2 separate regions of the Homo sapiens genome follow, and region 2 is linked to region 1. Evidence: promoter capture Hi-C in 16 types of primary human blood cells and fetal thymus (Javierre and others, 2016). All regions are on one chromosome and are shown on one strand. Each heading gives the region's core, a stretch centred on a gene start or on the middle of the fragment in contact. The rest is flanking DNA. Distances are from core to core; before and after follow the strand shown.

The links. Contacts are between HindIII fragments. The CHiCAGO score rates a contact against its expected background, and 5 or more counts as called.
Region 2: a contact is called between a fragment that was not itself captured here and the fragment with the promoter of RBMS3-AS2 in region 1, in 1 of 17 cell types (endothelial precursors). The highest score is 6.3, in endothelial precursors.

What each region holds. Positions count from the first base shown.
Region 1 is chr3:29,640,699-29,646,390 of GRCh38, forward strand. It overlaps RBMS3-AS2 (RBMS3 antisense RNA 2), which reads right to left and starts at 2,118. Exons shown (of 3, transcript NR_174948.1): 1 at 1,961-2,118; 2 at 396-449. All of the region lies in intron 4 of RBMS3 (RNA binding motif single stranded interacting protein 3), which reads left to right. The HindIII fragment of the contact is 8,371 bases long and covers 1-5,692 here.
Region 2 is chr3:28,909,620-28,915,311 of GRCh38, forward strand. No RefSeq gene overlaps it. Among named protein-coding and RNA genes, the nearest start is that of LINC00693, 340 kb to the left of the region's middle. The HindIII fragment of the contact is 1,519 bases long and covers 2,461-3,979 here.

The DNA.
Region 1 (5,692 bases), core at 868-3,367:
GTGGTCCTTGGCATTTTTTCCTTGTTTTAAAGTAGCTTTTTACCCTATATAAAGAATAATACATATGAAACAGTATTGTATTTAACCCTAAAATATTCCATTTCTGCTGTCAGATAAACTGAGTTTGAAGGCTATCTCTACCCCTTACTCCTGTGTGACCCTGGGTAAGTTATTTACTGTCTCTACAGCTGTGTTTACCCATCTTTAAAAATGGGGATAATGATTCTTCCTACTTCATAGGGCTTTTGTGAGAATTACATGATAATACATGTAACAAACTTAGCATAGTCCTTGGCCAATTGCACAAAATAAATTAGCTATGAAATGTATTTGTTCATAATAGAAACTTCAAGAAAAATAACTAGGAAAGACATAAAAATCCTCTATAGTCTCACCTCCGAAGCAAGCGATAACTGTCATTTTGGTATCTTTTATTCTTCCTTCTTTATCTAAAGACAAATTACAAAAATGAATCTATTCATACATATTGTATTTTAATCTGATAAGTTGTGTATAAACTAAATCATTTTCCCTGTTACTAAATATTGTTCAAAAAAATTATTTTCAGTGGCCACATGCTTTCCCATTTGTAAAGCAGTATCATACTGTATTTTAAAAATATATTGCTGAGCATAATGGTTGTTTCCAAACCACCAGTATTTCAAAGAGGCTGCATTGACCATCCTTATAAGTAAATATCTCTACATATTCATAATAATTGGTTTAGAATCGATTTCTAAAGTTAGAATTGCTGAATCAAATGGTATATCTTAAATGTATATTTCATACACGTTTTAATGTACTGCTAAATTGCCTTCCAGAATGTTTGTGCCAATTATTACTTTTAGTAGTATATCAAATACTTTTTAAACAATAGATACATTCACTTTAAAAAGAAATGGCAATGACTTTTAATTTTTTAGCTTATTTTATTGAGTTTGAAAAAGATTTGGCCACTTGTTTTTTTCTCTCTTGTATACTGTATGAACATTTGAATTTAAAAAATGTATACTGCACTGCTTCTTTAATTGTCATATTCACTGAGGTAACATTTGTTGAGCATCTACTCAAGACAGGCACACTGCACAGGGTGAGAGATGTAAAGACCAGGACACTTATGCTAAAGTCAGTGGTGTCCATGAAGAGCAGAGGCACAGTGAAATTTGCCTGGTCCTTCTAGGGGCTTTGGAGATGCATATTAAACATCTGAAGCCAAGGGATTCTTCTTAGAGCTGTCCTCCCAAGAAAGAGGGAACCAAACAATGAGGAGATTTGGCAAGTCCTACCCAAAGAGAACTGACATTTCTTAGGCATTTTATGAAGAGATACATAGAACTCCAGTTCCACTTGTTAAAAGCAATAACTGCTTTCACTTACTGAACATGCACGCTGTGGCAGGCTCACTGCTGATATTTTACAACTTTCTGCGATCAGAAAGGTTATAACCCGTAGATCTGCCAATGAGTGGATTCTGACCCTGGGTGAAGTGAATGAACTAGCCCAAGAGTTTGCAATTCTAAGTGGAAATGCTGGGATTCACCATCTGATCTGATGCTTTGCTCTGTCTTCTCTTATTTACACCCAGGTTTCTCAGCTTTCCACCTTTGTTATATTTGCATTTTGCCATACCTGCCTGTTAACCTTTTCTTAAAACAAATTGATCATCTATGTTTATTTTTGAACACTTTGTTGTTAGTTTCCTTAAAAAGGAAACTTTGTATCTCTATTATAAATAGAAAATCAGTTATATTTGCCATATAAAAATAAAATAAGTAAAAATGTATGGTTTCATGTGTACCACCAAAAAGCATTTCATCTTTCTATCCCCTTTCCCATCTCTTGCCAGAGGCCAGGCTATAACACCTGAGGAAACACTGCCCCAGTCACTGCAAACATTTAGTCACTAGGGACAGCAGAACAAGACTGTGGGAACTTGGTAAGAACCTGGGACCCTTTGTACCTTTCTTCTGTTGGTTTCTTTATTCTCATTCTCTTCTGGATGGTCTCCAGAATAACTGGGGAGACAACACTTACAGGAAAAGCGCATGTGTTCTTGTCTCAGAGTGGAAGAAAGAAGAGCCGCCGTGTTCCAGCTAGTGCTCAGAGAAGGTGCTCTACATATCTTGTTGACCTTGATTTGAGCTATAAAAGGCTGCTGACTCAGAGCATTAAAACAGAACCACTGGCTTATTCTCTGAGTAATTCAAGTCTGCCTTTCCCTCAGTCGATCCCAGAGGTGGCTAGTCAAGCCTGGCGATGTTCATTTACCATCAGAGATTAAGCCTGTCTGGCCAGGCTTTGTCTGGTAGCATTTTCTTAATCAAATATAATGACAATTTGAATAAACTCAAGTCCATTGAACATTGTTCATGTTTTATTATTAAGAAAAAATAGGCACTTTGATTCTTGGAACACTTTTTAAAAGGCTCCTCGCTGTGTCAGTCTCTGTTTGTTATTTTGGGGCATGACAGTTATCTAAAGAGAACCAGCCAGATTTAATCTGACAGCCACAGTCAGGGAAGAGCGCTACCAATCTAATTATCCAGTAATCTAGTCAGAATGGGAGTAATTCTAGGCCTTTCTCAGGCAGCTAATCACATTTCCTGTGCATTAGCAGCCACACATGGGGAGCTTTTAGGAACAAGGTTTTTGGCCTGCACGGGCTTCATGAGCCTCATAGTGGTATAATTTCTTTGTTGACTTCTTCCCCCAGAGTGGTTTCTTCAGGATTTTTCATTTTGTTCTCATTCCTACTTTTCCCCTGCATTGCCGAGGGTGTCTTAGCTTAGCTTCAAGTTCTAAGTTTGACGAGCTTCTGACTTTCCTTTCAGAATGCAGCAGAGGAGGAAGGGTACATTCACGGATCCATATGCTTATTTCTTGTGCAGGGACAAATTAAGGAGCGTAACACAGTCTGCAGGGAAAAAAGGGAGAAAAACGTGAAAGTTGTTTTCTTCAAGGAAAGCGCCGTTGTTTGTGGGCCATTTTTCATGTCATTTCTCTATCAATGTGGGTGATTTGAGGGAGGTTTCTAGAGAAAAGGCCGGAGAAAAGAGACAGTTAATGGATATTTAGTTCTGTCGTTGTCTCTGAATGTCAAGCTGTAGGTAATATTGATCTCGTCTCATTTCTGTAATCACAATTTTAACATGGAAAAAGGAAAACACACACACATTCAGGGAGTGGGAGCATTAATGAATTTCCTGCCATTTTCTTTCTCTGAAAACCTCCGTTTAGGATAATTTCATATTAGTCCTGTAAAGCAGAATGTTTTTCGAGTGCATTGGTTTCTCACACTCCAAAATTGAGGTTTCAGTGGCAGTATGCCGCTTCTACCCCCAGCTTTCAAACATTTCTCCAGCTTCTCATAATCACAGCTTGGTTAGTCTGAATCCAAACATTTGAATCTAATAGAGGGGAATTCTAGTCACTAACAGGTTTACAATATAGTAATTTTCCCCAAAGTTATCCATGATAAATGGGCTTCCCAAATAGCCTCTAGCAATCACAGCATAACGCATTAGATGGAACACTCCAAAAAAATAAAAAAAAGGAAATTTGAAATCCTGTGTTAAATTGTCGTGTTACAATTTTGAACGGGTTTCAATCACAATTTGCATCCTCTCAACTGAAATTTTTGTGGGCTTAAACAATGCTTTTATTCCAGTAATTGTGGGAGGTATATGCCACTAGGGGCTGCATAGTTTGGGTGTGCCTCCATGCACAGACAAGAACTGTTGCTGAATCATAAGTATATTTGAGCCTCGTGTCTGAAGCCTGTGGACCTAGAGCCTAACGTGTCTCAGATGGAACACGTAGACTGGTTCCAGTGCTTCTTGTTCTGTTTCTAATTATGTCGTGTCTGCATTCATTCTAGGTTTAGATCTCACAAATGCTATTGATAGAACTTTGCCTAAAAGGTTCAGTAAAACTACAAACAAACCCTAGTTTTGAACTGTCATCCAATATATTATAATAGTATATGAATTTTAGTCTTTCATTGCAGGCACTATATTGTTTGACTCTGATTGTATTGATTGCACAGGCGAAAGTAGGATTATAGCCGAAGAGTAGTTCATGGCTGACATTTTTATCGATGGTTCCATGAACCTGAATGTGTACTTCAATCCACTAAGGTCACTGATTAAAATGTTTACCCAATAAAAATTACATTTAAATATGTCAATAGTACATCAACTTACATAACATCTTTCATCTGAAAATATAACAACATATATGAGAAATTAATGGCATAGTCACTAATCCCTGTAGAAGTATTGCTTAACCATGGTTCACTTCTCACAGAATCAAAAAGAGAGAATAAAAATGGTATAGCAAAGACTTTTAATGATTCCAGCATCTATTAGGGTATCATTGTCACAAATAAAAAGAATACCAGTTCCTACATTTCTCAAGGCTATTTCTCAATACAAGTTAAAATGATTCAGGAATGCAGGAGATGCAAAAAAAGAGGCTGCATATTAAGAGCTTGTTTGAGCAATGGAACCTCTATGTATTTACAAATGTGGCACTTTTCTCTCTGCTTTAAAACTTAGATCTTGAATTACTCGAGTGATTGTGATCTGCAAATCGGTATACATTGTTGATTTCTCTGTTCAAATTAATATCTGCTGAATGAGTTGGGCTTTGTAAAAGTTCGGCTTTGTGTCTTATTCATTCTCTGCCAGGGTGTCTGGTGCTGTCCAAGGAATGTCCCAGGACAGAAGGGTCTTTGTATAAGGAACAATAATAAATTCCATTATTGCCATTTATGAATTATCAGGCTGCCTTGATCTAGTTAACTTCTGTACAAAGAGTGCTATCAACTTCAAACTTTAGTTAAGTCATCATGAGGCAATGATTCCAAGTTTTGATCCATTTTATAAGGGATCTTCCATTTTACTGTATCATTCTGAATACTGTTCATTTTCTGTCATTTTTAATTTGGTTTTTCTTTTAAAAAGTCAGCTTCTGTAACACGTTTTGACTTTGAGGCAGAGTCTACTTTGGGTTTGTGCTAATTTTTTCCTCTTAGACAATTAAAACTTTCCAAGAGGACATTTGATGTTTTGCAGCATGGATGTCATACATCCCATATTGGCATTGTGTAATGTTTTTGGTAATATTAAAATAATTGGTAGTTTAGGTGAATTACCACTGGGTCACTGGCCTTTATCACCCACCCATATAGATAGCCTTTTAAATTTATATTGTCTGTTTATGTGATTTGCCCTGGCCCATATTTGGAAATACCTACAAAGCCCTACATTACCTCTAATCTGCTTAGGCAATCTTGCTGGTTATGCATTGGTATTTTATATTGGTAACATACAAGCCTGCTATCATCTTCGATGTTCCCTTTAATCTATGCTGTCCAATAGTGTAATCATTTGGCTGTATGCCTGTTTAAATTGAAATTTAAATTCATTCACATTAAATACAAATTCAGTTCCTTAATTGTACTGGTCACAGTTTACATGCTCAATAGTTACATAAAGGTAGTGGCTTCCAGACTGGACAGTACAAGTATAGAAAATTGCTGATATTGCATAAAGTTCTGGTGGACACTGCCTTAAATGTCTGATAAACTTATCAAGGAGAATGTCTACATTGGCTTAGAGGCAGAAAACAATTGTGGCTGTACAATTTCAGGTTCAATACTAGAAACAGCAAAGTCAATAAAAGTGGCTGA
Region 2 (5,692 bases), core at 1,970-4,469, 730 kb before region 1:
TGGAGTCTCGCTCTGTCGCCCAGGCTGGAGTGCAGTGGCGCAATCTAGGCTCACTGCAAGCTCCGCCTCCCGGGTTCGCGCCACTCTCCTTCCTTCTCCTGCCTCAGCCTCCCGAGTAGCTGGGACTACAGGTGCCCTCCACAACGCCCGGCTAATTTTTTGTATTTTTAGTAGAGACAGGGTTTCACCATGTTAGCCAGGATGGTCTTGATCTCCTGACCTTGTAATCTGCCCGCCTCAGCCTCCCAAAGTGCTGGGATTACAGACATGAGCCACCAGGCCCGGCCAATTTCAACCAGTTTTTCTAAAATCAGATGTACTGAGCCACTTTAGTCCTTTAGGGCCTATGTGGTAACATCAGACAACTGGATAAAATATTTTATATGAGGGTTATTTGCCTCTAAATGCCAACCGTCTAAGGTGGTGGTATAATCATTACTTAGAAACTAAGGGATTGTCATGCTAGTTATGATGCTGCTCAGAGGCTGAGGGGCATACAGGCAAGAGTTAGTTAACATGATTTCTAGGCATGGCTCTGCTATTCATTAGTTGTGTTCACAGTCATCAATAAGTTATTTATTGGATACAGGATCTAAACTTAACAAAACCCAGTCCTTGCACCAAAGCTAATAGAAAAAGAAGAAAAATTCATAAGCAAATAACAAAAGCTCTAGCTATGAAAGAGTGTGGTCTATTTCGATTTACAAGGATAAGGTGAATTACGTATCTGGGAAACAATAAAAAGATTTTAATGGCACCATTCACTTTCACACACATTTTGAAGTGTCTGTGTGTGTGTGTGTGTGTGTGTGCATTATATTCTTAGGTAATGGGTAGGAAAAAAAGGAGAGCTATGCCTGCCCTCAAAGACTTCATAGAGGAGAATCATGTATTTAAAAAGATAAATTGCCATAGAGTGGTTTGGATGAAATAATAGAACCTTAGAGATTAGATTGAGAAGGAGACTTATTGGTCAGAATATTATATTAGTGGAGTTGTGAACCAAAGAAATTAACTGTGGATAACTTAAGCAGAAAAAGAAGTTACTGAGTCTACATTAGGTAACTCACTGAATTACCTAGAAGGTAGAAAAATCAGGTTGGCAAAATATGCAGAAGTAAATGAAAGGTAGATACCCAAAATTAAATCTTGCCAATGAATCAGTCTGCAGAGGATGCCTTTGCTATTACCATTGGATATCAGTGCACCATCTTGAACCCTCCCTACTACTGGCACTGAATGCTTCTCATAACCCACTCTGGACTCAATGCCTTTGACAGGTACATTTTTTTTTTTTTTTGAGACGGAGTCTTGCTCTGTCGCCCAGGCTGGAGTGCAGTGGTGTGATCTCGGCTCACTGCAACTTCTGCCTCCCAGGTTCAAGCGATTCTCCTGCCTCAGACTCCTGAGTAGTTGGGACCACAGGCGTGTGCCACCATGCCCAGCTAATTTTTATATCCTTAGTAGAGACAGGGTTTCACCATGTTGGCTAGGCTGGTCTTGAACTTCTGACCTAAGGTGATCCACCTGCCTTGGCCTCCCAAAGTGCTGGGATTACAGGCGTGAACCACTGTGCCTGGCCAACAGGTACATCTTTTTCATAAAAGGTAGGTCCATGTTTTCTCCATCGTTACGAAGTAGGCTGGGAAAGTATGTCTTTGTCAGTTTCTATAAATGGAGCAGGTTCTATTTCCTACTAATATTTATTGTCAATCAATTCTACAAAGGTAGAAAGGATCTTCTGAAATTGGCCAGCCAAAAATACATGTTGCATATAATAAAAGGTCATATGTTCATCTTTGCTGGTTTTCCTGCAACTATTAGTAAATAGATGTTTTATTATTCCATGTTTATGGAAAAATATATGTAAAGCTGCCATTACATTCTATACTAATTGATCAAAAGGAAATCCTCTGTGTTTGTGCTTCCATAGATGTGCATTTGTTCCCTATTTCTTCCTAAGCCAAGGATAAGACACTCACACAAGCTCCTGACTCAAAACATGGCTCTGTACCAAAGAACTAATAAGCACAGGCAGGGTCCTTTTGTTTGTTTTCTTTTTTTCTTCTTCTTCATTTTTTTTTTTGAATAATTGCTTTCCCTATTTCTTTCTTACCAATTCAGCCAACACACTTTATCTCAAGGAAATTACATTTGCTCACATAGGTGTGTGAATAAGCAGAATGACAGGAGTTTGTTTCAGCCGGAATTAGATGGATATTGCAATTACTTGGGGAGAGAACGTTTCCCTAAATTCAGCGACGAATCCTTCTCAGATCAAAACAAGGATTACTTGAAAGATGGCTTTTGTGCCTTAATACATATTGTGTTTTGGGAGCATATAACTACTTCTTACTCTGTGGTAAAATATTTTTTTGGTTTTGGGAAAAACAAATACATCTTCACAATGATAGTGAGAACAGAAAGGCTGAGTTTTCTGGTCAAAGAAAGGGGATTAGAAGCTTTTCTAGTGATGTGATCCAGACTGAAAAGGGAATGTTGTGGATGTTTTTGTGGCTTGAAAGAATATTCAACCAAGAGCCTTCATTTAGGATTATAACTAGAGCCTCCTTTCCTGACCATGTTCTGCCAGGCTCTCAGGTACTGTTTCTTTGGACTTCTCTTGACATCCCATACTTCACTTTGCTCTACAAGCTATCTCAGTTTTTAGTTTGCTTATCTAATGGTTAATAAACTTCTTGAGGCCAAAGAATGTGTACTTTCTGTCTAGAACTCTTAGTTCTTATTGTAGCTCTAGCATCTAGTTAAGTCAGAAGCCAGAACATTGAAGGGATGAATGACTTGAACACCGAGAGCTCAATGATATCATGGAATTAAAGTCAATATTTCTTTTTTATTTATATTTTAGAATCTATACAGCAGTCCTCCCTTATCTGTGGTTTCGCTTTCTGAAGTTTCAGTTTCCCGTAGTCAATCGAAGTCCAAAAAATGTTAAATGGGAAATTCCAGAAATAAACAATTCATAAGTTTTAAATGGCTCACTATTCTGAATAATGCATTGAAATCTTGTGCTGTCACACTCCATCCTGCCTGGGCGTAACTCATCCCTTTGGCCAACATATCTATGCTCTTGTATATGTTACCTCCCTGCTAGTCACTCAGTAACCATCTCTTATCTGATCGACTGTCTCAGTATTGTAGTGCTTGTGGTCAAGTAATTCTTATTTTACTTAATAATGGTCCCAAAGTTCAAGAGTAGAAATTCTGGCATATTGTTATAAAGTACTATTTTATTATTATTGTTAATCTCTTACTGTGGCTAATTTATAAATTATACCTTATCATAGGTTACATATAGGACAAAACATAGTATATACAGGGTTCAATAGCATCTGAGGTTTCAAGAATCCACTGGAAGTCTTGGAAGGTATCTTCCTCAGATAAGTGGGGACTATGGGATGGATGTTGAAAAATGGATTTTGAGGTTTTTTTTCATTACTTGCTTGCTTATATAATTTTTTTCAAGAATTTCTACAGAGTGTATATATATATAATTTTAATAATTAGAAATAAATGCAAAAATAAAAAATGTACTTTTTAAAAATGTAAACAATACCTTTTAAAAAAGAAACATTGAGATTTTTAAAAGCAAAAATTTAAAATTCCTTAAGGATTTCAGTTTTGGAATAAGATTCTCCCCCAACCTCCTCCACCGTCAAATCGTAACATAGTTGTATTCACATGAAAGGAAGGCAGAATGAGCATGCTGGAAATATGGTGTAATACTAACAAACGACATGAGAAAGAGAGAAATCTTTATTTTTATTTTTTGTTTGACATTTTTTTCCCAACTGGAAAGTAGAATAAAGGTTAATAAGAATATATGGAAGGCCAGGAAAGGAAAGGCCACGTTAAGAAGATACCTACGTATGTCAAATGATTTCTAATATCAAGCCCAGATAAATTGCACTCTGGAGAGGAGACAAACTTCAAGAGCAGAGATGACAAAGTAAGCATAAGCTTCTAGAAAAGCTTATACTAGGCCATTTACAAAAAGAGAGGGAGAGAGAAATGGATTACGAATGTGACAGATTTGTAAATTTGACAACAATTTCTGGGCAAAATAAGTCAGGAAACACATGGTTTTGAGTTCACAGAAAAAGGGCAACCACTAAATTTCAGAATGTATTTTAAAAGGATGGGAATGAAAGTTACTCTTGATTCCTTTTTTGGGGTAGGATTCTAGACTTCTGGATTAGGTGATTTAAAAAGCAAAAGCAAAGTCTTTTCAAATTTGAGCAAGTCATGGAACAGTTTTTACTGATTTGTTGCTGACAAATTGGAGAGCTGTGAATAAAGAATGTAGGTCATGAGATTTTACCCAGAAAGTGGCATATGAATGCCCAGCCTCACAGTCCTGTATTTGTCCCTGTCCCTTTTAAAATGCTGCACAACAACTTGGATGTGGGCTGAAAAGTTACACAAATGCTTTGAAATGGAGGATCACATAATAAATATGGAATTCAAGACAAATTTAAACTGGTTGGAACAAACAGCTAAAACCAAGACGACTTTAACATAGACAAATTCAAATTCAATTGTTTAGGTTAAAAAAAACAACAGAAATAGGAAGACTACTCTGAACCCATCTTAATATAAATATGAGCAAATTTTTATACAAAGCAAATCTCTTTACAAGCCAACAGAGTGATGTAGCGATTAAAACATTCTGATATCCTTTTGGATTGCATTAATAGTGTGTTAATGTCAGGTCCACAGGAGCCGATGTTCCTACCCTATATTGTTTTTCTCAGTTCACACCAGAGTGTGGTATTGAGCAGATGTTCACTGATTCAAGAAAAGGGTGACTGGAGAATTTACATACAACTAACAGAAATCTCTGATGGTACTGGGCATATTTGTCTTAAGGGAGAAAGATTTTAGGGACACCCTGATAATAATCTTTCTATATTTAAAAGGCTTTTATGTAGAAAAGAGAATAATTTTGTATTGTTCCAACAGGTAATAGAAATTGTTACAAGAATGGGGAATTCAATTCAGCATGAAGAACTTTTTAACTATTAGAACTGTGTGAAATTAGAGTAGAAAGCCTTAGGAGGCAATGAACACCTGTGATTTTGAATATTCAGGTGTGTAACTGACAATGCTCTAGGTAGGTATTTTTACATGGTGGTAATATTGAGTTGAATTAGGCAATCTAATGACTTCTAAGCCTAAGGTGTTATGAGCTTATAGGTTCTGTTTGTCTTTACTTTTTAACTCCAAAGGCAAACTTTTAATATCTTAAAATCACCCTTCTTATATTATAAGATGTCTGGGTGAAGATAGTAAACAAAACTATTTAGGGAAGTCTAAATGTATTTGGCTTGCTATTCTTTGACAAATCTTAGCTGAAATTGACATTAACCATGACATATATATGTTATCATGCTCTATCTCTATTTATGATTGTTGCTTTGCACTGCTGTCATTCTTCAGAAGTTTCTTTCTTTTGACTTTCCTTAGAATTAGCTTTAGCGATGAATGAAACTTCAAATTTGTACAGTTTAATATGCTTTTAAATAACTAGAGTAAGACTTTTATATTCTCATTTTAGGTATTATGCAGACTGTAAATGCAAATTTTTACAGCCTAGGTGTGTAGGCAATGGGCAAGTTTACAATCTGCATTAATACTATAATTTCAGCTACATTTATTAACACCTACCCTT